Regions from separate parts of the Homo sapiens genome. Here region 1 is linked to region 2. The links are contacts of gene promoters, found by promoter capture Hi-C in blood cells and fetal thymus (Javierre and others, 2016). All regions are on one chromosome and are shown on one strand. The core of a region is centred on a gene start or on the middle of the fragment in contact, and the rest is flanking DNA. Distances in the headings are between cores, read along the strand shown. Region 1 has its middle 52 kb from the start of KCNH2. Region 2 holds the start of DRC11L (dynein regulatory complex subunit 11 like).

Region 1 (3,690 bases), core at 56-2,555, 280 kb after region 2:
AATTCCCTGGGAGCAGACTCTGAGACAGAGACTGGAAGGAGGGAGAAGAGGGAGGACTGGGTAGAGGGACAAGTCCGCCTGTGACTCAACCTCAACAGAGAGCCCAGCTGAGCCCACAGTGACCTCTAGGGCTGGCAGGGCCCTTCAGAGAGGCTGCGTAGGAATGATGGGCCTGGCTGTTCTATCCCCGTGTTAATCCATCACTGAGTGTGGGCTGCTCCGGAAGGAGGTGTGACCTTTGGTGAGGCAGTTTTTTTCCTGCCAAGGCAAATCCATGGGAGGGCGGACAGCAGAGGGCCATCCTCTGGTGGCACTTTCCATCATAGGTAGGGATTATGACATTTATTTCAGAAAGACAATCTGGGTGACACATCACGGCATCCACCCTCATTGCTTAATTTACCTATAATATCTACTTTAATGATTTTGTTTTCTACATACTATCTATCTATCTATCATCTATCTAATCTATCTATGTATCTATCATCTATCAATTATCTACCTATCATCTATCAATCACCTTTCTATCTCTGTTATCTATGTATCTATGTATCTATCTATCTATCTTATATCTATCAATCATCCATCATCTATCAATTTTCTTTGTATCTATCAATCAATCATCCATCTATCTCTCTCATCTCTCTCTTCTATCTATCTATCTATCTATCTATCTATCTATCTATCTATCTATCTATCTATCATCTATCTATCTCTATCATCTATTTATCTATTTATCTAGTTGATTTGTCTTGGATTGAGACAGGTGTGTTAAATATTCTTATTTTTTTTTAAAACAACATGTTTCTGTATATTTCTCCTGTCATCTCTTATATTTTCTGCTTCATGACAGTTGTTGCTAAGCCACTGCCATATAAGTGGCACCTACTGTTAGATCTCCATCATGATTGCAGACTTTGGGATTCTGTAGCCTCCTTCTGTGTCTCATTTAATGCTCTCTGGTCTGAATCCTGCCTTGTTGGATATCAAGATGGTGACTCATAATTTCTTTTAATTTTTATTTGCCTGTTGTATCTTTCAATTATACTGAACATTTTGATAAGCTTTTATTTTTAAACTTTTGCAATCTCTTTGTATTAGTATTGCCTCTGATATATAGTATAATATTGGATTTTTCCTTTTTTGCCAATATGGATACCTTTTTCTTCTAACAGCTGAGTTAAGCCCCATTATATTGATTGATCTGATCTATGTGTTTGACCCCAGTTGTCACATTGTTTTATTATACATATCATTGTATGCACATATCTATGTCTATATCGATATATCAATGTGATCAATTTTTTTAGCTTTCTTTTGGTATTTAGAAGGTTTGAATTTTTGTTCTAATAAATACCTTTATTCTAATACCTTTATATGACACTTTTAGCTTCCTAGTTGTGGTTATTTTGTATTAGTTCCCTACTTCAAGCAAGATTAAAATTGGTTAGTAATATCTTCTCCCTCCCTTGTCTGCTCCAGCATATATTCTGAAGCGATACTCTTTGAATTTCTGTTTCTACCTATAAGGCAACCAGCAAGCTTGTTTTACTTTTTATCTACTTTCCCCACTCTCTCCCCTGTTTTCTTTTTCTCAAGGGATGCGGTCTCTCTCTGTCATCCAGGCTGGAGTGCAGTCGTGTGATCAGAACTCACTGTGGCCTCGAATTCTTGGGTTTATGTGATCCTCCTGCCTCAGCCTCCCGAGTAGCTGGGGACACAGGTGCCACCACCATGCTGGGCTCCCTCCTGGATTTTTGACTGTTGTAATCTATCTACAGTGTCAGAACACAGCCCTCACCTTCTACATGACCGCCCTTATAATTATCGTTTCATCTTGGCACTGAACTTACAGCCAGTCCTTGTATGAACGGCTTTCCAGTCATTTGTGTTGTTTGAAGCTTGTTCTTTAGTGGATTCTTCAGTAAAAGTGCATGAGAGTGACACTCCCTGAGTTCTCCAACATTTGCAGACATAACTAAGATCTGTCAATAGCCTTTCCACTTAAAGGTTGTCTTGGCTCACATTGTCTTTCCTTGAGTACTTAAAATATTTTACTTCACTGTCTTCTGGCATAAAGCATGGCCATTGAAAAATCTAAATGCAACCTAATCTTTCCTCCACTTCCTTCCATAAGTAACTTGGTCTGTTAAACTGGACATCCAAAGATTTTTTTCTTTTCAAAGTGTGTAGTCCCACAAGCATATGTCCCTGTTGGTGATCCTGTGACGACTTTCCTATTGTACAATATGCTTCCATATCCATTACAGTATGCAGTTTTAAGTATCTTTATTTCAGGAAAATTCTAAATTTAGTTTTCCATATTATTCTGTTCTGTGGCTTTTGTTTTCTTCTTGGGGATTTTTATTATATGAATACTTCATCTTCTTAGTCCACCTCCTGTTACTTTCTCTTGTATTCTTTTCATTGCCTTGTTCATACCTTTTAACTAAAACTTTTTTCTTTTTTCATCCTTTATTTCATTTAAGACATTATCCACTGTGTCTATTTGCACCGACAGTTCTTCTAACTTAGACTTCATTTCTAAAATAATTTTTATTTCACATCTGAGTCTCTTCTGTCTTTTCATACTATTGTTTTATTTCCTTATTTTGGATCTTTTCTACTTCTGACTCATGCTGGTCTTCATAGCATCCATCACTTTGTGTATTTTTGTTCATTTTGAACTATGAAGGGCCAGTGTTGGTTTGTGCTTTGGCCAAGTCATTCTGGTTGGTGAGCCTTCATTGTCTGCAGGATAGTATTTGGCTCCTCATCGCTTTTTTCTCAAATTAACTTAGAATGATATTTATGTGAAATTATTTCCCACTGCTCATGCTTAAGTAAAATGAATTTTCTGTACTTTTAGGGAAGAAGGTTGGGCTAGGATAACTTTTTTTGGACTTTATGACTCTAGAGTCTGATTTCTGTTCTTTCACTCGGGGTTAGAAGATACGAACCCCACATTCTGAGCACTCTCTCTCCTTTGATCTCCTCCTCACTTTAAACTGGGCCTTGTCTTCTCTTTGTCCCCATTGACCCCAACCCAATCAATTCACATTCTTTTCTCAGCAGTTTTTCCCCAGTGCAAGATTTGGACTCAGAAGGCAGCTGTGGTGTGTCAGTGTGCTGAATTCCCAGGGTCCAGGTCACTCCAGCACAGTTCCATCTTACTGAGGTCCCCTTGTTCTCACCTCTGACTCGGCACCTACACACCCCTTGCCCGGTGCTGGCAGCTGCGCTCCGACAGGCCTGCAGGGAGTCCCTGGACACGCACCAGACGGGCTGTGCTGTTATGATCCCCGGGCCCAGCAGAGGCCCAGCTGTTTTTCCTGCTCTTCCTCTTTCCTACACAACTGTTTACATCACGCTGCTCTTGAAGCTATCAGCAGTTTGCCCGGACACATTCATAATTTGGGTTTGTGAGTTTGTGGGGACACCTTGTCACCCAGATTTGTTGTAGATATTCTCCATAGATCTACAACAGGAAACGTTTTCAGGAAGGGTTTTGGTTTTGCTATTCTGGTTCTGTTCTCTTTTATGTGGTGATTTGGGGACATATATACATATATATATATTTTCTTCTTTTTCTTTTTAGAGACAGGGTCTCACTCTGTTGCCCAGGCTGGAGTGCAGTGGTGCCATCGTAGCTCACTGCAGCCTCAAACTCCTGGGCTCTGACAATCCTCC
Region 2 (3,476 bases), core at 75-2,574:
AGCACCTGGGAGCTTGTTAGAAAGGCAGGCTCTTGGGTCCCCCCTCAGATCTGGAGCAGAATCTGTTTATCTATCTATCTATCTATCTATCTATCTATCTTTGAGACAGAGTTTCGCTTTGTTGTCCAGGCTGGAGTGCAGTGGTGCCATCTCTGCTCACTGCAACCTCTCCCCATCCTAGGTTCAAGCGGTTGTCCTGCCTCAGCCTCCCGAGTAGCTGGGATTACAGGCATGTGCCACCAGGCCTGGCTAATTTTTATATTTTTAGTAGAGATGGGGTTTCACCATGTTGGCCAGGCTGGTCTTGAACTCCCAACCTCAGGAGATCCGCCTGCCCTGGCCTCCCAAAGTGCTGCGATTACAGGCATGAGCCACTGCGCCCAGCCTGGAATCTGCATTTTAATGAGACCCTCAGGTAGCTCATAGGCACCTTCGAGTTCCTCCTCTTTGCTCCTCCTTGCCGCTATCTCCCTTCTGTCCGTTTCCCTGGCCCTGTTCCTCTTAGATTTACTTATTCATAAGCCTCGACGTGACACTGAGCCAAAAAGCTCACCCCAGCTGACCAGCCTCAGGCTGCTAGTGGTATAATATTTTGTCTTTTTGGAAAAATTATCTCCTGAACTTGTAGCAGTGACGGGAGGTGGTACCCACAGGTGACCAAGTAAGCCCCAAGCATGCAGAACAGCATCCACTATACTTTCTAGCATGATGCTTCACACGGGTCTGGCTCATGGGAATGGTGTGAACTCTTGGCAGGCCCCAGGGAGGAAAGCATGGTTATGCTCACTTTCACCCAAGGGGGCAACTGGGACTTCAGGGCCTTCTGACTCCAAATCAGTGCCTTTCCCCTCCACCACATGGGCTTCCCCGTGCTGTCATCCAGAGAGTGAAGGAGGGCTGTGGGGCTCAGGAGGCGGGGGCTGAGAGAAGGAACAGAGGCCGCTGAGAGTGAGAAGCTGCGGTGATGCCTTGTTAGGGGGTAATGTCTTTAGGACAGATGTATCCAGAGCGCCAAAGCTTTCAGGGGACTTCAAATAGAAACTTATTTTACTTGTTCCTTACAAGAAAAATGGCCAAAGTTGGACAACATGTTCTGCCCTAAGCTTCCAAAGCTTGCTCTGCGGGAGCCTGCAGCCACCCACCCACAGTCCCTTCAGCGCGCTGCTCCCAGGACGTCCTCCGAGATAAATGTCCCCGATTCTGCACCCACCAGCCCCCTCGCCTCAGCCCTAGAACACTGGTACAATGGGTCAGAACTCTTAAAAACAGGCTGTTCTGCCCTGTGGCCCTGGAAGTCAGGGAGCCACAGAGGTTCTGTGAATTCCACCACCAGCAAACAAGGGGCAGCGTGGAGGAGTGGACACAATGTCTGAGGGGTGAGTGAGGGGCTGGAGTGGGGCTCCCAGGGCAGAGACAGCAAAGGGCAGAGCATCTCCTTAGTCCTGAGAGGCAGGGGCAGAGTGGCGGTTTGGGCACTGGGCCACCCCAGCTGCTGCTGCTGCCCTGGCAGCTTTCACTGTGGAAACTTCCCTCCGATGGTTAATTCCAGAACCAGGGCTCTGCTTGGGGAAGGGTCCCTCCTCCACATTCATCCCTCACCCCCACTTCCCATCCACCAGCCCAGATCACTGCAGCATCCGTGGGCTGCCCCACACCTGGAGGGCCCCACTGCCCCTGACTCCCAAAGACCCCTTCCTTACCAGAGCCCCAAGCCTGGGCTGGCTTTCCCCCAAACCCCCAAAGGTCATGCCCATTCTCTCTGCTAATCCTACAGCGGAGCCCAATCCCACACTCTCCCTAAGACCAGGTCGGTGTCCACTCATTGCCCTGCGGGCTCCTTACCTCATTGAAGTCCATTTAGGAGCCATGAGTGACATCACACCTTCTGGTACCCCGAGCCCACACTCCTCAAAAGGCCAGGCTGCTCCGTCTCCCCACTCCTCCGTGGCTCAGAGCACGCGGCGCCCGCCACCCTCTCCCCAGAGCTTACCAGCGCCTCTGGGAGTCCTCCCACGCGACCCTGCAGGAGCTGCTGGACCAAGAGCAGCTTCTGCTCGAACCTGCGCCCGACCGGGAGCGGCAGTCCTTCCAGTACAGGCTCGCATCGCTCTACCTGCACTACCTGGGGCTGCTGCGCCGCTTCGACACCGTCTATGACCAGATGGTGCAGCCGCAGAAGCGGCGGCTGCTGCGACGCCTGCTGGACGGCGTGGCGGGCCGCGTGCTGGAGCTCAAGGACGAGCTGGTGCGCGCCGACCTGTGTGAGAACCACTGCCTGGACCGCGTGCTGCAGGATTTCAAGCTCACCCCAGTACGTGTGCGCAGCCGCGAAGCCACGCCCCCAGCCAGCTAGCGGGAGGGGAGAGGTGGGGTGGGACCGGCCTTGACCACCTGGGACACAGAGCCACGCCCTGGCCAGCTTGGGGTCGGGTGGGGTAGGGATGGGGCCGACCACCCCTGCCTACCCGCCACCCCACGGATATCCCTGGTGTTGGGACAACTGCTAGGAAAGGAAGGAGGGCAGAGAAGATCAGAGGATGGGGTTTGGCCTTGTAGGAAGGGCTTCAGGAACCTTGGCGGTGGGGGGTGTGCATGGAGGTACTTAGAGGTTGGATGGAGTCAGGGTGAGGTCCCCTGCATGACTGGGAAGACCCACGAACCGCAGGGAATTGGTGAGGAGAGTCCTTTAGAGCCTCCTCAAAGTGTGGTCCCTGGACCAGCAGCATTGACATCACAAATGAGAAACTCTGAATCCCTAACTCACTAAATCTGCACCTGCATTTTTATCAAGACCCTCCAGTGATCTGTGTGCACGGGCAAGTTCTAGAAGGCTGTTCTAGAGCACAGAGCTTCTGCGGCGCCTCCAGTCCGGCTCAGGGTTCAGTAACTGCTTCATATCCAAGACTATCTCAAAGTTTCCCCAACCAGCTGCAGCAGTGCACTTGGTCGGGGGTGGGGGCGCAGGGAAGATTCCCCAGGTCCTGTCATTCTGATGTAGTAGTCTGAGGAGGACCTAGGAATCTGCATTTAAGAGCTTCCCAGTTGATTGTGATGCACAACCAGGTCTGAGACCACTGCCACCTACCATGAGCCTCCAGAATTCAACTCCAGCCAGAGGATGGGGGCAGAGGAAGAGAGGAGTGGCTCTTGGGGGTATCTGCCCCATTACCCTTTAAGTTTAGTCAGGACTCTAAAATGGAGGAAAACAGTGCTGGGGGTGTGTAAGCCCCTAAAAATGGTAACGGATCGGCCAGATGGCTCAGACTTTTGATTCCTGACCCTCCTCCCCCAACATTGCTCCAAAGGCTGACCTGGAGGTTCCAATCCCCAAATACTTCCTGCTGGAGCAGTCCACCACTGTGCGGGAGCGAGGGCTGATACTGGCCGAGATCCTGTCCAGACTGGAGCCAGTGTCCTCCCAGAAGGTAAACGGGGGTGACACCCTCCCAGACTCTTCCATACCCCATCTCCTGAAA

Evidence for each region. Contacts are between HindIII fragments. The CHiCAGO score rates a contact against its expected background, and 5 or more counts as called.
Region 1: a contact is called between a fragment that was not itself captured here and the fragment with the promoter of DRC11L in region 2, in 1 of 17 cell types (M1 macrophages). The highest score is 6.3, in M1 macrophages.

Annotation. Positions count from the first base shown.
Region 1 is chr7:150,924,232-150,927,921 of GRCh38, reverse strand. No RefSeq gene overlaps it. Among named protein-coding and RNA genes, the nearest start is that of KCNH2, 52 kb to the left of the region's middle. The HindIII fragment of the contact is 478 bases long and covers 1,067-1,544 here.
Region 2 is chr7:151,203,344-151,206,819 of GRCh38, reverse strand. It overlaps DRC11L (dynein regulatory complex subunit 11 like), which reads left to right and starts at 1,324. Exons shown (of 19, transcript NM_001304419.2): 1 at 1,324-1,376; 2 at 1,984-2,311; 3 at 3,306-3,425. The coding sequence starts at 1,366. The HindIII fragment of the contact is 18,375 bases long and covers 1,115-3,476 here.